2 separate regions of the Homo sapiens genome follow, and region 2 is linked to region 1. Evidence: promoter capture Hi-C in human tissues and cell types (Jung and others, 2019). All regions are on one chromosome and are shown on one strand. The core of a region is centred on a gene start or on the middle of the fragment in contact, and the rest is flanking DNA. Distances in the headings are between cores, read along the strand shown.

Region 1 (4,752 bases), core at 1,584-4,083:
CAAACCTGTCTCCCATTCTATTCAAAGTCATCCCTCTGAGGCTCACCTGAGACAAATGCATCTCTGATTGCTTCCTCTCCCCTATTGTTTATGTAAAGATGCAGAGTCATCGAGCCAGACTAAATTGTGTATTCAGTGGAAAGCTGATCAAGGGCTCAAAGAACCTTTTGTCTCTTATCTACTGTTTTTTTTTTTGAGACAGAGTTTCGCTGTTGTTGTCCAGGCTGTAGTACAATGGCGCAATCTCAGCTCACTGCAACCTCCACCTTCTGGGTTCAAGTGATTCTCCTGCCTGAGCCTCCCGGGTAGCGGGATTACAGGCGCCCACCACCACGATTAGCTAATATTTTGTATTTTTAGTAGAGACGGGCTTTGACTATGTTGGCCAGGCTGGTCTTAAACTCCGTCAGGAGTTCAGGCGATCCACCCACCTCAGCCTCCCAAAGTGCTGGGATCACAGGGGTGAGCCACGCGCCCAGCTCTGTTTCTTATCCATGTCTAACCAGGAAGCCCCTACTTCCTGTCTTACCAGACTGAACCAATTTACAACTTATACATATTGATTGATGTCTCATGTCTCCCTAAAATGTATAAAAGCAAACTGTACCCCTGACCACTTTGGGCACATGTCTCAGGACTTTCTGAGGCTGTGTCATGGGTGCATCCTCAACCTTGGCAAAATAAACCTTCTTTCTGGGTTTTTTTTTTTTTTTGAGATGGAGTTTCACTCTTGTTGCCCAGGCTGGAGTGCAATGGCGTGATCTCGGCTCACCACAACCTCTGCCACCCAAGTTCAAGCAATTCTCCTGCCTCAGCCTCCCAAGTAGCTGGGATTACAGGCACGCGCCACCACGCCCAGCTAATTTTGTATTTTTAGTAGAGGTTTCTCCATGTTGGTCAGGCTGGTCTCAAACTCCGGACCTCAGGTGATCTGCCTGCTTTGGCCTCCCAAAAGTGCTGGGATTACAGGCATGAGCCACTGTGCCCAGCCTTGGCAAAATAAACTTTCTAAATTGACTGAGACCTGTCTCAGATATTTGGGGTTCACTATTATATGCGCACGCACACACACACACACATATATGTATTTGTTTCTTGAGACAGGGTCTCCCTCTGTCACCTAGGCTGGAGTGCAATGGCATGATCATGGGTCACAGCCCCCTCAACCTTCTGGGCTCAAGTGACCCTCCCACCTCAGCCTCCTGAGTAGCTGGAACTACAGGCATGCACCACCACATCTGGCTAATTTTCAGTTCAAATTTCTTTTCTTTTTTTTTTTTTTTTGAGACGGAATCTTGCTCTGTCACCCAGACTGGAGTGCAGTGGCATGATCTCAGCTCATTGCAACCTACCCTTCCCGGGTTCAAGCGATTCTCCTGCCTCAGCCTCCCAAGTAGCTGAGACTACAGGCGCGTGCCACCAAGCCCAGCTAATTTTTGTATTTTTAGTAGAGAGGGGGTTTCACCATATTGGCCAGGGTGGTCTTGAACTCCTGACCTCCTGACCTCGGCCTCCCAAAGTGCTGGGATTACAGGCGTGAGCCACCGCACCCAGCCTTCAGTTCAAATTTCAACCTATCTGACTTTTAAGCTTCCTTTCTAGCCTCCTGCTCTCAACTTATTTATTTCCCTCAGCAGCAAGTATCACCTTCATTAACTTCTGTTTTTATGACACTGTATCCCATGCCTCCCACACACCACAATTCTAAGAATTCTGCAGTCACTGCCCAGAAAATATGGAATCTCAAACTTTAGTTTCAGATTTGGCCTTTTCTCTAATTTATACCTCTAAGTGAGCTAATAGGTACTGACCATTAAATTAGAATAGAAATCAGAAGACAGGATCCTATCTTCTCAGGAGGAATAATCAAATAGAAAAGTAAGACAAAGCAAGCAAAAGTTTGTTGTTGTTGTTGTTGTTGTTGTTATTGTCGTTTTGAGATGGAGTCTCACTCTGTCACCAGGCTGGAGTGCAGTGGCACGATCTCGGCTCACTGCAACCTCCATCTCCCGGCTTCAAGCAAGCAATTCTCCTGCCCCAGCCGCCCGAGTAGCTGGGATTTAAGAATAATGTGATTAAATAGGCCGGATGCCGTGGTTCACACCTGTAATCCCAGCACTTTGGGAGGCCGAGGCGGGCGGATCACTTGAGGCCAGGAGTTCGAGATCAGCCTGGGCAACATGGTGCAACCTCGTCTCTACTATGAATACAAAAATTGGCTGGGCATGGTGGTGCATGCCTGTAATCCCAACTACTCAGGAGGCTGAGGCAGGGGAATTGCTTGAACCCGGGAGGCGGAAGTTGCAGTGAGCCGAGATCATGCCACTGCACTCCACCCTGGGGGACAGAGCGAGACTCCGCCTCAAAAAAAAAAAAAAAAAAAAAAAGAATATCATGAAATAGCTTTTATTTCCAAAAAGATGGAAGGCAAAGACAGAGCCACACTCACCGGGGGGATGAGGCAGCAGGAGCGGATGGAGTCGCTGAGGCCCATCCATTGCTGGTAGTCAGGGTACTCCCCACGCCGCAGGAAGTACTGGTGGCCCTGGTAGTTGGGGCGCTCATAGATCATCCAGCAGCCGCTCTCCACCCTGATGGAGTTGCAGCGGCTGAAATAGGGTTGTAGGTTGGGGCAGTCAGTGGTGCATTCGTAGCTGCGGCCCTGGAAGGCCCTGTCCTCGTAGAAGGTGATCTGAAAAATGGAAGATGTGGGAGCATGGAGTGATTGGCCCCCACTGAGGCCACTGCATTAGGGCCAAGGCTGAGCATCCGGTACCCAGGACTTACCTTTCCCATTTTGAAGGAAGTGAGCAGATGTTTTCTGGTTGCTGTGTGGGACTGCGGGAACGTCACTGTATGTATAGCAGCCCTGACTGCTGCCTCCACAGGAAATCACACAAAAGGGCCCATTTTGGTGAGTAAGGGGATTTGCAAGCTCGCTGCTCTCCGTGCCCAGGTCACTGGGGTTGGCTGAATGGTTTACTCTCATTCTTTCTGGTAGGTTCGGGTTGTTCTAATTCACTAAAGCTGTTGTTGCCATCAAAATGAATAGAGTACACTTTTAGTTGAGCAAAAGGATGGGCGAAATTCTGTCTCTGTGCTTTTATTTTATAGTTTACTCTGCTTAATTGACTTCTCAAAAGTCATTAAACTAAGTAATGAATTCTGCTCAGGGACTGGTGGTGTTTTTGTGTGTGTGTGTGTGTGTGTTTTAGTTCTAAAAGCCAGAATTTAAATAGTAAGGAATCTTAAAGAAGAGGGAATCAAGTGAAGTAATCTGTGAAAGTGTGTTAAAACCCATAAAGCTTAGTTCAAATTCAAAATTCTGTGATCAGCCAGGCGAGGTGGTGCACACCTATAATCCCAGGACTTTGGGAGGCTGAGGCAGGTGGATTGCTTGAGCTCAGGAGTTAGAGACCAGCCTAGGTAACATGGTGAGACCCCATCTCTACAACAAATACAAAAATTAGCCCTGCATGGTGGCGCATACCTGTAGTCCCAGCTATTTGGGAGGCTGAGGTGAGAGGATTGCTTAAGCTCAGGAGGTCGAGGTTGCAGTGAGCCATGATTGCACCACTGCACTCCAGCCTGGGCAACAGAGCAAGACCCTGTCGCAAAAAAAAAAAAAAAAAAATTCTGTGATCATCATTGTTGGTGTTTGGGGGCTTGTCTTGAATAAAACTGATACTTGCCTGGAATTTTGTAGGCTTCTGGGGGCTGGGTATTATTTCTTGTTCATGTCTATCCCTGAGCCCTAGAGCAGAGGGTTGGCACATTGCAGGTCCTCAATAATTGGCTCTGACCTGAGCAAAAACAGATAGTTGTGGCTTTCTTCCCCCTTTCAGATCTTCCTAAGGGCCTAAATCCCTCCTTCTGCTGGTGGCTGTCCAGAGTCCTGCCTGCTGTTTGGTGTTCCTGCTCTGCCTCAAATGTTACCACTAAGTGGCTGATTGGTCTTCTCAAGGCATGGGACCAAAAGGGCTCAGAGTTGGTCCCTATTGCTGGCAGATTGGACATTCTACAGTGGAAATAGCTGGATTAGCCTTAATAAGTAGAAGTTAATGCATAGCCTTCATCCATACCACTATGAACGCTCTCTTAGTGAGCTCACTGCCAGCAGTAGGGTGGCTGATGGCAGACGCTGACTGGAATCAAATGACCAAATCATTTTTTCTACTTGGTTGTTTAGTGCCTCTTCAATGGTGGATGCCCTACACTGGGCCTTCACATGGGATACAACTATCTTCGCCCTTTGTGCCCAATCCCATATCTCCCTGCACATTCCTCTACCCCAGACCTTCTTGTCCCTAATCTTCCAATCTTTCTCCTTCCAGGCCCTGGACCAGCCAGCCAAGCCACACATTACTGCTCAATAATTCCATATATGCTTGACCTTGGGCTACTTTTCTTTCTGCACCGAGTGAGCAGCCAGGTGCACTACCTCAAGGTTGCCTTTTGGGAGGATTTCCCTCACTGCTGTCTTTAGGGTGACTCCTGAGTGAGCTATTCTGCAGCAGCATTCTATTTTGGGCTTGTACCCAAATGCCATGCCAATTTATTAGTGTATCAAGCTCAGCCTTCCCCCACTCTATCAGCTGGTCAGAAGGGACCCCTGCAGGCAGTTGTAAGTGTGAGCTGAGAGAGAGCTATTGCAATAATGGTGACTTCATCCCATCCCGCAGGGAAGGCTAGGGCTAGAGTTGTCAGGAACTTAGGCAAGTGGACCGGGAATCTGTGCCTCTGCATTGCCCC
Region 2 (4,379 bases), core at 634-3,133, 1.8 Mb after region 1:
CTTCTATTATCTGAGATTTTTTTAAACACTCCAGAAAAGTATTTTTATTTTACATCTGATTGTTCAAAACTAGAAAACAGAATTTCGTTCCCTTGAGATGAAGAAATTAATAGTTTTCACAGCGTAGGAATAAAATTTAACAAGAAAAGGCTACAGTATATACTGGAATGATAACATTAGGAGTAATAGGTGCTTCTTTATCTCCTGCAAAATCCACTCTGATAGTTTGCCTTTACTTTTTGTTCCTTCAGATTTCTGCTATGGAAACGAAGATCTGACATTTTCTATCAGTGAAGCCATTAAGCTCTGTGTCACTGTGGTGGCGTATGCTCCCGAATCATTCAGAAGGTATCTGCAGCCCTTTATTCTGTGCCTTGTGATAAGTAAATATGGCAGAGAAAATAAAATTGAATGAATACAAAGGTTATGCTGATTAATATCAGACTAACATTCTGACAAGTAAGCTTTTAGAAACTAAATTTAGGCCAGGTGTGGTGGCTCACACCTATAATCCCAGCACTTTGGAAGGCTGAGGCAAGAGGATTCCTTTAGCCCAGGAGTTTGAGACCAACCTGGGCAACATAGTGAGACCCTGTCTCTACAAAAATTTTAAAAAATTAAAAATTAGCCAGGTGTGGTGTTGCACACCTGTAGTCCCAACTTTTTGGGAGGCTTGAGGCAGGAGGATTGCTTAATCCCAGGCGGTCAAGGCTGCAGTGAGCTGTGATTGTCCCATTGCACTCTGGCCTAGGCAACAGAGTAAGACTTTGTCAGAAAAAAAAAAAAAGAAAGAAAGAAAAAAGAAAAGGAAAGAAGAAACAAAGTTTAGGAAACATAGCATAGGTTCTGGAAAACAATAGTAAATCTTCATTCATTTGAAATCCCTTAATTTGAATTTTGTGCAGATGCTAAGGTATTTAGTCTTGTTAGAAAATATTTTTCCTCACAAGTAATGTGAATTAGTAGCAAACAAAATTTCATAACAGATATTTATTTAAGAAAACTCCTTTCAAGGGGCAATAAGAATTTCTGTAACACAAAGGGCAAGAATATCAATCTTGCCTTCATTTTGCCAAGTACAGAGAATTCAAAGACTCACATGAAGAATGAGTCATCCCAATTCAAAGATGTTGGCTCTGGTCTGAGATTTAAATCTGATCTATTAAAAGTTGTACTCTGTTGACAAGCTCTTCCAGGAAGAAGGAAGGAGCCAAGCTGATTATGCCCAATATATCTTTATATATTTGCCCTGCACCTTAAGCCTGTTTCTCTCTCCCATAAGAGAATGAATAAGGGCCAGGAGGAGCGGGATTTATATTAATTGAACTCTTTTTACTGGAGGGACACATGAGGAATGAGTAAGAAGTGTTTTCCCCAATATTCTCGAATTTTTGTCTTCTGGAGCAATGGGGAGAAAAACAGTATGCCTGTGGTCAGGCACGGATGTGGCTGTGGCCTTCAGGAGAACAAAGCTGCAGGATGGTCTCATTTCTGATCTCAGGGTATGGAGGGGATTTCCTACTCCCATTTTCTTGCTGTTCCTATAATACCACTGATCTACAAAAAGTTCCAGAATGGATCAAATCCTGCATTAAGTTAACTCCAAATCCATTCTATACGTGATTGTAAACATCTTCTCTCTACTCTATTTGCCATTCCAAGTGTGTTCAGCTACGTTGTTAACCAGATATGTCAGATATTCTGCAATTGAGACACTGCAATAATAAAATGCATACAGATTCTCCAATATTCCTGCAACATAGAGAACACCTAAGTTTGACTAAAAAGTTCTCCCATTTCAAATTTTACCAAATTTCCATTGAGTCATAAAATTCTCTTTCAAGTCAAAATTCAAACACATTGAAATCAAAAGGTGTTAGAGTTCACAATCAAATTCCCTTGTCATTGTGAGTTAAAAGCCAAAGTCTAATATTGTTAAGTTAAATTAGAATTTTTTTTAATCCTCCTAATTTTCCATTCTGTCAGTTTAAACCAGATGACATCTTGATGTCTCAGTAAGGTCAGGGTTTCTTAAGTAGTGGTTCCCTGGGATATCTCTCATGGGAATAAGTAACATACCTATAGGACTTCAACATTTGTAACAGCAAGTCTCTGTTGTACTTAATTTTTTTTAAAAGTATTTTATTTAAGTGTAACATTCACATAAAACACTAAAAAAATCATAATTTTACAGTTCCATGAATGTTCATAATGTTATCACATCTACATAACTACCACTCAGATTGAAAAATCAGATAGAGGCACTACTATCCTGATTTCTAATATGATAAATCAGTTTTGCCTATTTCTGAAATCTGTTTAACTGAAATAGTATAGTAGCTACTTTTTAATGTCTGACTTCTGTCATTCAGTATTATTTCATGAGATTCATTCATATAAATGTGTGTAACAGTAGTTGATTCTTTTTCATTCACTTATAATAGTCATAATAATTGTATGACTATGTTACAATTTATTTATTTCTTCTCTTGTTATCAGGCATTTGTGTTGTATCTAGTTTGAAGGTATTATAAATAAAGCTGCAATGAATGTTTTTGTATATGTCTTTGTACACAAATATTTATGCATTTCTATGGATGGAACTGCTGGGCTAAGTCATGGACTATGAGTATTTCTTGCTTTAGTAGATACTACCAAAAAGTTTTCCAAGGTGGTTTCAATTTTCATTCCCACCAACAGTATGTAAATGTTCTAGTACCCTATGGCCTCATCAACACTTGTTATCTTCGGTCTTTTTATTTTAGCTATTTTGTTGGGTTGTAGTGACATCCATTATCATTTTAATTTCCATTTTCCTCTTTCAAATTAAAAGGTTTGGAAGCTTTTCAGATAAATGTTTATCAAAATTTGGACATCTCCTTTTGCAAAGTGCCTACTGAAGTCTTCTGCCCATTTTTAAATGAAGTTATCAGTATTTTTTATTTTATATGTGTGATTTCTTAGTGTTTTCTATTTAATTAATTATGTCATCTGCAAATCATGAGAGTTGTATTTTATCCTTTCAAATTCTTGTACACATTATTCCTTTCTCTGTCCTTAATGCACTGGCTAGAACCTTAATACAAAATGGAATAGAAGTGATGATGGTGATGATGGTGGGATCTTTGTTTCATTTCTGATCCCGGGGTATGGAGGGGATTTCCAATATTTCATCACTAAGAATAGTATTTGCTAAAGGATTTTGTTGTAATATACCTGTAAAGATTAAGGAAGTAATTTTATTACTCATTAAGAAATTAATTATTAAGGAGTCTGCCTTCTATTCTTAGTTTAGTTTGAGTTTTCTTATTGATGGATAATGAATATTACCAAATGTTCCTCTCTATTTATAGAGATGATTATATGATTTTTATTCTTTATTTTCTAAGTGTGATAGGTTACACTGATTTATTTTCAAAATTAAAACTTTCCTGTCTCCTTAAAAATAAACTGTAACTGGGTTGTATAATTATCATTTTTCAGTATTGCTAGATTTGGTTTGCAATTATTTTAGCATTTTTACAACTATGTTAATGAGAGCTATGTCTGTAATTTTTATTCTTTAAAAAGGTCTTATCTAATGAATTTTATTGCTAGGATCACAGGGAAGTTAGGAGTAGAAGAGATATTCTAGGTAGCTCTATGTCATTCAAGATAAACCAATTCTGGATACTTAAAAAAGTTACAAGTGCTTAAACAAAAAGGATGTCTTGCTTAGCTACTACTTTATTAACTACCCACTGGTAAACGTTTTAGCAGGTGTATTTGTAACCCTCCATTATTATAAAGTCCTTGTCAGGCTATAGTATCAAGGATATGAAGATTAAGCTGGACTCATAAGATGAAATGGAAAGTGTCTCTCCTACCCACCCCCCGCTTTTTAATTTTCTTTTATTTTTGAGACAGAGTCTTGCTCTTGTTGCCCAGGCTGGAGTGCAATGGCATAATCTTGGCTCACTGCAACCTCTGCCTCCTGGGTTCAAGCAATTCTCCTGCCTCTGCCTCCCGAGTAGCTGGGATTACAGGCACCCGCCACCACACCCAGCTAATTTTTGTATTTTTAGTAGACATGGGGTTTCACCATGTTGACCAGGCTGGTCTTAAACTCCTGACCTCAGGCGATCCACCCGCCTTGGCCTTCCAAAGTGCTGGGATTACAGGCATGAGCCACTGCGCCCAGCCCCCCACCCCTTTTTAAAAACTCCTATTCTCTGTAGAAATTTGGTATGGATTAGCTTTTTTTTATTTTTGAAACAGGGTCTTGTTCTGTTGCCAAGGTTGGAGTGCAGTGTCACAATCATGGCCCACTGCAGCCTTGATCTCCCAGACTCGAGCAATCCTCCCACCTCAGCCTTCCAAGTAGCCGGCACTACAGGCGG

What was found. Contacts are between HindIII fragments. The study calls those that stand out against the background at their distance.
Region 2: a fragment that was not itself captured here is called in contact with the fragment with the promoter of CRYGB in region 1 in 1 of the 25 tissues and cell types used here (dorsolateral prefrontal cortex).

Annotation. Positions count from the first base shown.
Region 1 is chr2:208,143,325-208,148,076 of GRCh38, forward strand. It overlaps CRYGB (crystallin gamma B), which reads right to left and starts at 2,834. Exons shown (of 3, transcript NM_005210.4): 1 at 2,788-2,834; 2 at 2,450-2,692. The coding sequence starts at 2,796. The region is part of intron 2 of LOC100507443 (a long non-coding RNA gene); the gene reads left to right. RefSeq lists enhancers at 1-418, 2,026-2,649. The HindIII fragment of the contact is 6,166 bases long and covers 1-4,752 here.
Region 2 is chr2:209,945,596-209,949,974 of GRCh38, forward strand. UNC80 (unc-80 subunit of NALCN channel complex) reads left to right here. Exons shown (of 65, transcript NM_001371986.1): 47 at 252-348. Among named protein-coding and RNA genes, the nearest start is that of RPE, 55 kb to the right of the region's middle. The HindIII fragment of the contact is 5,215 bases long and covers 1-4,379 here.